3 separate regions of the Homo sapiens genome follow, and all the other regions are linked to region 3. The links are contacts of gene promoters, found by promoter capture Hi-C in human tissues and cell types (Jung and others, 2019). All regions are on one chromosome and are shown on one strand. Each heading gives the region's core, a stretch centred on a gene start or on the middle of the fragment in contact. The rest is flanking DNA. Distances are from core to core; before and after follow the strand shown.

What was found. Contacts are between HindIII fragments. The study calls those that stand out against the background at their distance.
Region 1: a fragment that was not itself captured here is called in contact with the fragment with the promoter of TRIOBP in region 3 in 2 of the 25 tissues and cell types used here (aorta and dorsolateral prefrontal cortex).
Region 2: a contact is called between a fragment that was not itself captured here and the fragment with the promoter of TRIOBP in region 3, in 1 of the 25 tissues and cell types used here (spleen).

Annotation. Positions count from the first base shown.
Region 1 is chr22:37,941,641-37,944,769 of GRCh38, forward strand. It overlaps MICALL1 (MICAL like 1), which reads left to right. Exons shown (of 16, transcript NM_033386.4): 16 at 1-1,182. C22orf23 (chromosome 22 open reading frame 23) reads right to left here. Exons shown (of 7, transcript NM_032561.5): 6 at 2,777-2,877; 7 at 1,410-2,606. The coding sequence ends at 2,535. Among named protein-coding and RNA genes, the nearest start is that of C22orf23, 10 kb to the right of the region's middle. The HindIII fragment of the contact is 9,418 bases long and covers 1-3,129 here.
Region 2 is chr22:37,857,353-37,860,727 of GRCh38, forward strand. It overlaps EIF3L (eukaryotic translation initiation factor 3 subunit L), which reads left to right. Exons shown (of 13, transcript NM_016091.4): 5 at 1,327-1,388. Among named protein-coding and RNA genes, the nearest start is that of EIF3L, 9.6 kb to the left of the region's middle. RefSeq lists an enhancer at 1-392. The HindIII fragment of the contact is 3,267 bases long and covers 397-3,375 here.
Region 3 is chr22:37,694,962-37,698,427 of GRCh38, forward strand. TRIOBP (TRIO and F-actin binding protein) reads left to right here and starts at 2,087. Exons shown (of 24, transcript NM_001039141.3): 1 at 2,087-2,128; 2 at 2,627-2,735. The HindIII fragment of the contact is 29,636 bases long and covers 1-3,466 here.

The sequences.
Region 1 (3,129 bases), core at 541-3,040, 250 kb after region 3:
TAACGTTTATAGTCTGACCCCTCACTTAGGCTTTCCTCTGCCACCCCGGTCCAGGGAAGAGGCTCGCTCCCGCCCATGGTCATCACTGGTCTGTCTGCTCTGTTGTCTGTTCTTTCCCTGACTCCCTCCCACCGAAGGCCTGATGGCTACTCACCCCTCTGGGATGGCTATGGGAGAGGAGGAGTGATGGGGACCGCCACCTTTTCTGCAGGAAATGTGCCCAGCAGCTCTTGGTCAAAGCACTGTTGCTATAAGCTATCTCTGGGATGCCTCTAGGCCCCCTTCCCTCTACACACCTCTGGGAAAAGATTACACTGTATTAACTCTCGAGGAGTTTCCTCACCAATAAACAGACAACCTCAACTGCCAGTGCCCTGCAGCCTCGGGCCACAGCGGCAGCCTTGTTTGCCTTCCCACCTGCCTCTGCCACACCTGGTGGCTGAACATCTCTGGTCGCCCAGAGGCCATGTTGGGGCCATCCTCCAAGAGGGATCTCTGCCCTCACCGCCTGCCACTGGGCAGGATCCCTTTCCTCTGCAGGGAGAGGTGGCTCCTCGGCCATGCAGCCCCTGGCAGGCTCCTTCTAAACATGCCTGTTGACCTGGAGCTGGCGCCACCAACTCCAGGGCCTTTCCAGGGCCAGACAGGTAACACGCATGAACCCGAGTGACAGCTCTGACGGGCTGTTTCGGTGTCAGGAGACAAAGCTGGCAGGGGCAGGGGTGAACTGGAGGCAAGTCAAGTCACCTGTGGCCTGTGGGGCTGAATGTGGGCCCGGTGTTGCCAGATCCTTTGTCATAAGAAGCTAGAAATCCAGATTTTATGTGTGTGTAATTTGTAAATGCTGAAAGCTAGCCTGAATTTTTTTTTTTTTTTTTTGAGACAGAGTCTCGCTCTGTCGCCCAGGCTGGAGTGCAGTGGCGCGATCTCAGCTCACTGCAAGCTCCGCCTCCTGGGTTCACGCCATCCTCCTGCCTCGGCCTCCTGAGCAGCTGGGACTACAGGCGCATGCTACGACGCCTGGCTAATTTTTTGTATTTTTAGTAGAGACGGGGTTTCACCGTGTTAACCAGGATGGTCTCGATCTCCTGACCTTGTGATCCACCCACCTTGGCCTCCCAAAGTGCTGGGATTACAGGCGTGAGCCACCACGCCCGGCCACTAGCCTGAATTTCAATCAAGGGTTGGCTGATACTGTGTGTCCAGGGTGGACTGGATTTGTCCTGGGGGGTTCTCTGGTTTGCTGCCTCCTGACCACATGATGGGGCCTTCGAGGTCGAGGACAACTGTTCCCATTAGATTGCACCCTCTGCCCTCAGGTTCTTGAGGGTGTGTGGACACAGAGGCTTTCCATGGGATGTCCCTGAGCCGGCCCTTGATTGGGGCCTCACCATTTACAGGGCCGTTTTATTCTGCAAACCGAAACTTGGGTCATGTGACCTGATGGGATTATGGGACTCCCTCCAGGTGCCCGAGACAAGGTTGATATTTCCAAAATATTTTGGTGATTTAGTGGGACAAGCAAATGACAGAATACCGGAGAAGGCAGGGATCGTGGGTGTCAGGAGCCAGAGGGGAGGGGGACAGATGTGCTGTGTACAGGACAAGGTGTCAGGTGACTCCTTCCCAGCAGGGCCTCGCAGATGCACAAGCACGGAGCTGGTGGGTTTTGCCCAAGAAAGGTCACGCGGCACATGCAGGGATTGGAACTCCCAGGCCAGGGCTCTAGGTCGCTCCCACCTTTTCATGTTTCTTTCTGTGGCCATGGGTATAGTGGAAAGACATAAAGCTAAAGCCAACTTTTAATCCTGAATGCACTGCTTGCCAGGTAAATGCCCTTGGTTGTGGTATCTTGTTGAGACTTAGTTTTCACAGAGGGATAATGAACCGTTGCAGAGGTTTATTGAGATCATTAACAGAGTGGAATTCAGCACCCGCCACAGCAGCCAGCCATGGGGTGCCCAAGAGGTTGGTTCCCGTTGCCACTTGAAATATGCAAACAGGTAGCTAGAAACCATCTGGGCTTGACAAAGTCTAATGCCTTGAACAAATAAGCTTATCCCTCTGAAAACAAAATGGTGCTTGTAATGACCCACGTTAAATATGTTTTATTGGCCAGTTAATCATTGTGGTTGAATACTTGCCTAAGGCGGTAAGAAATCAAATAAGTAAATCCTAAAACAGGAAGAAAGGAATCATATTCATTCCTGAATTCAGAAAACTAAATGAACAGGCCACAGGTCAGAAGTGGTGGGAAGCAGGCCCAGTGGATACCTTTAGACACATGTCCTAGTAGGGATGCTCGGGCTTTGCTTCTCTGCGGACGGGGCTGTGAGTCTCAGAGGCTCCATCTGCATTCCGGGGCAGGGGCTAGGCTGCTGAGTATGCCTTGGGGTACTGCAGGGCAGTGCTATGCCACCACCTGACGTGGCAGAAGGCTGGTAGGATGGGCTGGCCTGAGGATGGCCCTGCCTGGCAGAGGAGTGGACTCCAGTGGTCGAGCTTGGGCTACCCTGCCCGTCTCTGGAGACAGATTAAGTGGTGGCAAGACCCTTCCTAAGTTCCTCACTCCTTCTGTGGTCAATGTCTTCCATTTCCCGGAGTTTCTGCAAAGGGCATCAGGGAAAGCAGGTGTATCAGGGCTAGGAACCTGAGGAGCTGTCACAGCAGTGAGCTAGAGCCTGACCCCTGAACCCTGCCACAGCAGACCCTGTATTTCCATTCGCACTTGGCGCTGGGCCCTTCCCCTCCCCACTTTCCTGGTTGTTTCTCCTACCTGGGAGATTTCAGCAAGGATGATTCCTCGGTACTGTTTGCCCTGTCCCAGGGCCTCCATGTCAGCCAGGAATTCTTTCCTCTCCTGGATTTCCTTCACCACTGGACAGAGGAGAGGGCTGTCAGGTTCCCATGAGGGATGCAGGCAGCGGGTTGCCTCTCTTGAGGAGAGGAAGTGGTTCTATTGTCAAATAGTGTTTCTAGGCCGGGCGCGGTGGCTCACGCCTATAATCCCAGCACTTTGGGAGGCCAAGGCAGGTGGATCACGAGGTCAGGAGTTCGAGACCAGCCTGACCAACATGGTGAAACCCCGTGTCTACTAAAAATACAAAAATTAGCCAGGCATGGTGGCGG
Region 2 (3,375 bases), core at 780-3,279, 160 kb after region 3:
GAGCAAGACTGCGTCCCAAAAAAAAAAAAAAAAAAAAAAACCAATATTAAGTCCTCCAATCTATGGACATGGGATGTCTTTGATTTATTTAGGTCTTTGGTTGCGTTCACCAGTGTTTTGTGTTTTCAGTGTACAAGTCTCTCATTTGTTTTGTTATAGCTAACGTTTTTTTGAACACTTAACTCCTTTTTTTTTTCCCCCTAAGATGGAGTCACGGAGTCTTGCTGTCTTGCCCAGGCTGGAGTGCAGTGGCGCGATCTCTGCTCGCTGCAACCTCTGCCTCCTGGGCTCAAGCAATTCTCCTGCCTCAGCCTCCCGAGTAGCTGGGATTACAGGCACCTGGCGGATTTTTTGTATTTTTAGTAGAGATGGTGTTTCACCATCTTGGCCAGGCTGATTTTGAACTCCTGACCTCAAATGATCCACCCGCCTCAGCCTCCCAAAGTGCTGGGATTACAGGCATGAGCCACTGCACCTGGCCTGAACATTTACTCTCAATTGACTAAACACAGAATGAGTTCAAAACTCATTCTGTGGCTGGGTGTCGTAGCTCACGGCTGTAATTCTGGTACTTTGGGAAGCTGAGGTGGGAGGATTTCTTGAGGCTGGGAGATTTAGACTAGCCTGAGCAACATAGGGAGACCCCCTTCTCTACAAAAAATTTTTTAAAAAAATTATCCAGGCATGGTGGCACATGCCTGTAGTCCCACCTACTCGGGAGGCTGAGGTGGAAGGATCACTTGAGCCCTGGAAGTCGAGGCTGCAGTGAGCCATGATCATATCACTGCACTCCAACCTTGGCAACAGAGCGAGACCCTGTCTTCAAACAAACAAACAACATTCTGAAATTAATATTTTCTTTCTTCCTTTTTTTTTTTTTTTTTTTTTTTTTGACATGGGGGTCTCACTGTGTTGCCCATGCTGGAGTGTAGTGTGATAATGGCTGACTGCAACCTGTGCCTGCTGGGCTCAAGCGATCCTCCCACCTTAGCCTGCCGAGTAGCTGGGACCATGGGTGCGCACCACCACGCTTGTCTAATTACTCTTGTGTGCTGGTTTTTTTATGCACTTGGATGGCAGAAGTCTCTAAATGGTGAAAGGAAATAGATCTGAATGAGATCTTAATCTCATCGACAGAGATTGAGGTTGATGGAGTCAAATGAGAAGTGGATTTTCTCATTGCATGTATTCTTGGGGCATATGCATAGCAATTTAGATGTTGTTTAGTCTTCAGAATTACCTTTATTCCTCCCCACCAAAGAGCTAAAGCTGCCAGGATACCCCAGTTTTATGGTTAGTGAAGCACCCTTCTGCCATCTCTTTCAGATGCTGTCTTCCTGATTTTATACAAAGAATTATACTACAGGCACATATATGCCAAAGTCAGTGTAAGTATTTAAGTGTCGCAGTTTTTTTTTTGTTTTTGTTTTTTTAACTCTGTGCTGTTTTTGTCCCTAGAACACAGTCATTTGTTTATATTGGTTCAGTGTCTGGGCATGATTGGCATGTTTTTGAGTTTTAAGAAGCGGTGGAAGGAACAGTTTAACCCAGAAAGCTGTTCAGACACACTAACGCTATATAACCTATGCATTCTTTTAAATTTCTCTGTCCCCACAATTCTCCTGGACTGGGCAATCACCCATGCACTGGTTATAGGCTGCCAGCCTCATAGGATATTTCCAGGTACCTGCTGCTGCTTCTGCTTGGGGTTCTTTTTCCCTTCAGAGCATTGAGCCTCTGTTTCTCTGAGATGTACATAACACTGTCACTGTATGCCAAGCACAATGCTAGGCACTTAGCACACATCTTCACATATCTAATTCTACTATCAATCGTGCAAAGTTGGTACCCGAGGTGCCAAGAGGTTACCTTTTCTCAAATTTATCCAGCTAGTAAGTGACAAAACTCCTTGAATCTAGACCAGCTTGTTATAACACCAGTATTCTACACATTATCCCAACTTTGAGCACTTGCTAGATTCTGTTCTTCCCGACTTCTAAATTATAGAGTACGTGAAGTTTCTTTTTTTTTTTTTTTTTTTTTGAGAGAGAGTGAGTCTCGCTCTGTCGCCCAGGCTGGAGTACAGTGGCGCGATCTCAGCTCACTGCAGGCTCCACCTCCCAGGTTCACGCCATTCTCCTGCCTCAGCCTCCTGAGTAGCTGGGATTGCAGGTGCCTGCCACCACACCTGGCTAATTTTTTTGTATTTTTAGTAGAGACGGGGTTTCACTGTGTTAGCCAGGATGGTCTCCATCTCCTGACCTCGTGTTCCGCCCGCCTTGGCCTCCCAAAGTGCTGGGATGACAGGCGTGAGCCACCACGCCCGGCCTAGAGTGCCTAAAGTTTCTTAAAATGCCATCTGTACTATTTAAGGCTGGGCGCGGTGGCTCACGCCTATAATCCCAGCACTTTGGGAGGCTAAGGGCAGGTCACCTGAGGTCAGGAATTTGAGACCAGCCTGGCCAACATGGAGAAACCTCGTCTCTATTAAAAATATGAAACTACAAAAATAAGCTGGGCGTGGTGGCGGGTGCCTGTAATCCCAGCTACTTGGAAGGCTGAGGCAGGAGAATCGCTTGAACCCGGGAAGCGGAGGTTGCAGTGAGCCGAGATCGTACCACTGCACTCCAGCCTGGGTGACAGAGTGAGACTCTTGTCTCAAAAAGAAAAGAAAAATGCCATCTGTATTATTTATATACACCAATGACTTAATCTCTATCTTTAGCCTCAGTTGCCCCACTGAAGTCCAGACTTGTATATTCAGCTGTCAGCATCTGCACTTGGCTGTCTGAGTCATCTGAAGCTTAACACATCTAAAACTGAATTCTTATTTTCCCTCTAAACTAGTTTTTCTCATGGTAATCATCTCAATAAATGCTACCGTTTATTACCAAGTTAATTGGACTAAAAGCCTTGGCATTATTCTTGACTTTTCTCTGACATGATATCCAGCAAATCCTGTTAAGCTCTGTCTTCAACATACTTCTTTTTGTTGTTTTGTTTTATTTTGTTTTGTTTTTGAGACGGAGTCTCGCTCTGTCATCCAGGCTGGAATGCAGTGGCGCCGTCTCGGCTCACTCCAACCTCTGTCTCCTGGGCTCAAGCAATTCTCCAGGCTCAAACGATTCTCCTTCCTCAGCCTCCTGAGTAGCTGGGATTACAGGCATGCACCACCACGCCTGGCTAATTTTTGTATTTTTAGTAGAGACAGGGTTTCGCTATGTTGCCCAGGCTGGTCTCGAACTCCTGACCTCAGGTAATCCGCCCGCCTCGGCTTCCCAAAGTGCTAAGATTACAGGCGTGAGCCACTGTGCCTGGCCTTCAGCATACTTCTTGAATCAGCCACTTTTCACTGCCACACTGCTGCTCACCTAG
Region 3 (3,466 bases), core at 837-3,336:
TGGGCCAAGATCACACCACTGCACTCCGGCCTGGGTGACAACAGCAAGACTCCATCTCAAAAATGAGAGAATGAGGCCAGGCGCAGTGGCTCACACCTGTAATCCCAGCATTTTGGGAGGCCAAGGCGGGCAGATCACGAGGTCAGGAGATCAAGACCGTCCTGGCTAACACGGTGAAACCCCGTCTCTACTAAAAATACAAAAAATTAGTTGGGCGTGGTGGCGGGCACCTGTAGTCCCAGCTACTTGGGAGGCTGAGGCAGGAGAATGGCATGAACCCGGGAGGCGGAGCTTGCAGTGAGCAGAGATCGCGCCACTGCACTCCAGCCTGGGCAACTGAGCGAGAATCTGTCTCAAAAAAAAAAAAAAAAAAAAAATGAGAGAATGGGTGTTGGGGTATAATCAGCAGATTATTTCACAGAAGCCAAATATATAAAGGGCTGTCATGAGGGGATCCATCTGTGTGGAGCTAAAGTCACAGCAGACATTTATCCATCCTCGGTTTTCACACCAAGGTCAGGCCCTGTGCTAGTACATGATGAGCTGTGGCCATAGTTACCTGAGGCTGGGCTCAGCCCATTAAAATAAAACTTCTTTTGGTACGATCTGTTTTGGGGTGGCCTGAGCTCTCCCCAGGGGGGTGAGGTGAGGAACTGTGGGGGCAGGTGTTCTGGGGTCATATAAGCCTCAGCGTCCATCCTTTCCAAGGTCCCAGTGGTGCTGACGACCTTGACGCCCCCAGGTTTGAGCCATTGACCTTCCTTTGGCTTGCAGGTGGCTCTGGTGAGGGGCTTCAGTTCCTCCTGAGCTTGGAGAGCTCACTGCCTGCTCCCTTGTGAGGACTGCTAGAAATGCCCGCCTTGTTCTGAGCTAGCATTGGCCTCCCCCAGCCACCTTCAGAGGTTTGCAGGCTGTTCTCAGCCTTTCTCGATCTCCTCACCTTTGAGCCACCTCCAAGGAGAAGCCTTCTCTGCCTTCCTCCTTTCTCCACCTGACCTCCCATGATAGTAGGTGTTTCCTTCTTTTAAACACTGAACACAGTGAATCCTGGTTTGTCCCTCGAACCAGACCAGAGCTTTCTGAGTGAGAAATTGTATCTTAGTCATTTCTGTTTCTGCTCTGGGCACAAGCTTGTGTCAATGTAGGTTCTCAGCCAATCCTGTCTGAATCCAACCCCCAGGTGATCCCCAACAACTCTCAAAATAATCTAAGATTTCTGTGACCCTAGTGCCAAGCTCACCTGCCTACAAGTGTCTGAATCTAGTTTACCTTCCCTGTCTCATCACTGCACCCATCTCTCCTGGACTCCTGCTGCAACCTTCCTCCCTGTCCAGTGAATTTCGCCCTCCTCCTCCCATCCCAGTCGCCACAATTGGCAAATATCAACCAAAAGGAAAAAAGATGGGAAACAAGTTTTTTTTTTTTTTTTTTTTTTTTTTTTTAAGGCGGAGTCTCACTCTGTTGCCCAGGCTGGAGTGCAGTGGTGTGATTTCGGCTCACTGCAACCTCCGCCTCCCGGGTTCAAGCGATGCTCCTGCCTCAGCCTTCTGAGTAGCTGAGACTACAGGCGCACACCACCACGCCAGGCTATTTTTTTTTTCTTTTTTATACAAGAGTTTTGCTCTGTCGCCCAGGCTGGAGTGCAATGGCGCTATCTCAGCTCACTGCAACCTCCGCCTCCTCGGTAAGAAAACTGTCATGACAGAGAGGTTAAGACTCTAGTCCAAGGTCTGTGCTAAAGCCAGCCCAGCGGACTGTCGGCAGAATGAACCAACGGGAAAGAGGTCAGAAGGAGCCAGATCCGCCAGTGCCAGCCCTCTCCAGGGCTCCCTGGGGACCCCCAGCGGGCAAGGGCTGCAGGCGGCCCAGGCTAAACGTGCAGTGAGTCCCGCTCTCAGAGGTATCTGCGCCCCGCCTGCCTCCGCCCCGCCCCTTGTTCTGGTTTGTCCAGTCCCACAGAGTCCCACAGTCTTCATGTAAATGAGGCACCCAGAGAGAGCCTATGCGAGCGTGGCAGGGGCGTGGCCTTCCACCTCCCGAGCATCGCTCTGATTCATTGTTAAAATAAAGAGGCCATGACCCTGGCACTCCCACCCCGGCAGCCCCTGTGCGTGGAAACCCAGCCAAGGTTAGCACTGGGCCTCAGAAAAGAGGAGCTGGTAGGGGGAGGCCTACAGGAGGGGTAGGGGTCGAGGGATCCGGGGAGGAACTGGCTGAATGCCTGGATGGAGAGGGTCCCGGGTCCATTCTCTGGGTGGGGCATGTGTAGCTGCTTAAGGTTTTGATTATTATATCCACATCTCAAGTGCATTTTAGAGAAGGATTCTGCCTATTGGTTGTGGGTAGGGGAGGAAACGGGAGCAGCGAGGGGCACGTGGAGTAGAGCCCCCTACCCACCCCCAGGAAAATGAGCGGCGTTCTCCTGCTAGGCGACGCTCCTTTATGTGGCCAGACCAGGAGAGAAACGCCCAGGACGGGCGGGGCCGATGCGCCCCTCTTCCACCACCAGGAGTCGGGAGGACGACCGCCCGGGGAGGATCAGAGACCCTGGGGCCACGGAAGGACCAGTGGGTAGCCCTCTCCCCACCGTGCCTTGCTGTCGCCCCCACCGCATTCCCTTCTCCAGGTCTGATGATGGAGGAGCCTTGGCCCTGGCTGTCCCAGGGGAGGAGGTGAAATTCCTCAGCTCTCCACCAAGATTGGCCACAAAAGCCTGATCCCCTGGAACACAGCAGGTGAGGATGGATGTGGGCAGGTGACCTGGGGGCACCAAAAGCTGCAGGTGTTTTGGGATGTTGGGTTCCTCCCACCCCCCACCCTCCCCCTGGGGCTCTGTGTGAGTGGGGAGGCCATCTTTAAGTGATTCTCCTGACCCAGCTCCACTCCAGGGCATGGATGTTGGTGGCCTTAGGGGCACCCAGAAAGGAGAACCCTTGCACAAGTAAGATACCAGGGCGGCCGGGCGCGGTGGCTCAAGCCTGTAATCCCAGCACTTTGGGAGGTCGAGGTGGGTGGATCACAAGGTCAGGAGTTCGAGACCAGCCTGGCCCATATGGTGAAACCTCGTCTCTACCAAAAATACAAAAAAATTATCCGGGCATGGTGGCACATGCCTGTAATCCCAGCTATTTGGGAGGCTGCGGCAGGAGAATTGCTTGAATCCGGGAGGCAGAGGTTGCAGTGAGCCGAGATCGCGCCACTGCACTCCAGCCTGGGTGATAGACCGAGATTCTGTCTCAAAAAAAAAAAAAAAAAAAGAAAGAAAGACACCAGGGTTTCAGAAGGGTATGATGCTTCACACCTGTAATCCCAGCACTTTGAGGGAAGGAGGAGGATTACTTGAGGTCAGGAGTTCAGGAGTTCAAAACCAGCCTGGGTAACACTGCAAGAGCCTTTTTTTTTTTTTTTTTTTTTTTTGAGACACACTGTTGCCCAGGCTGGAGTGCAGCGGGGCGATCTTAGCTCC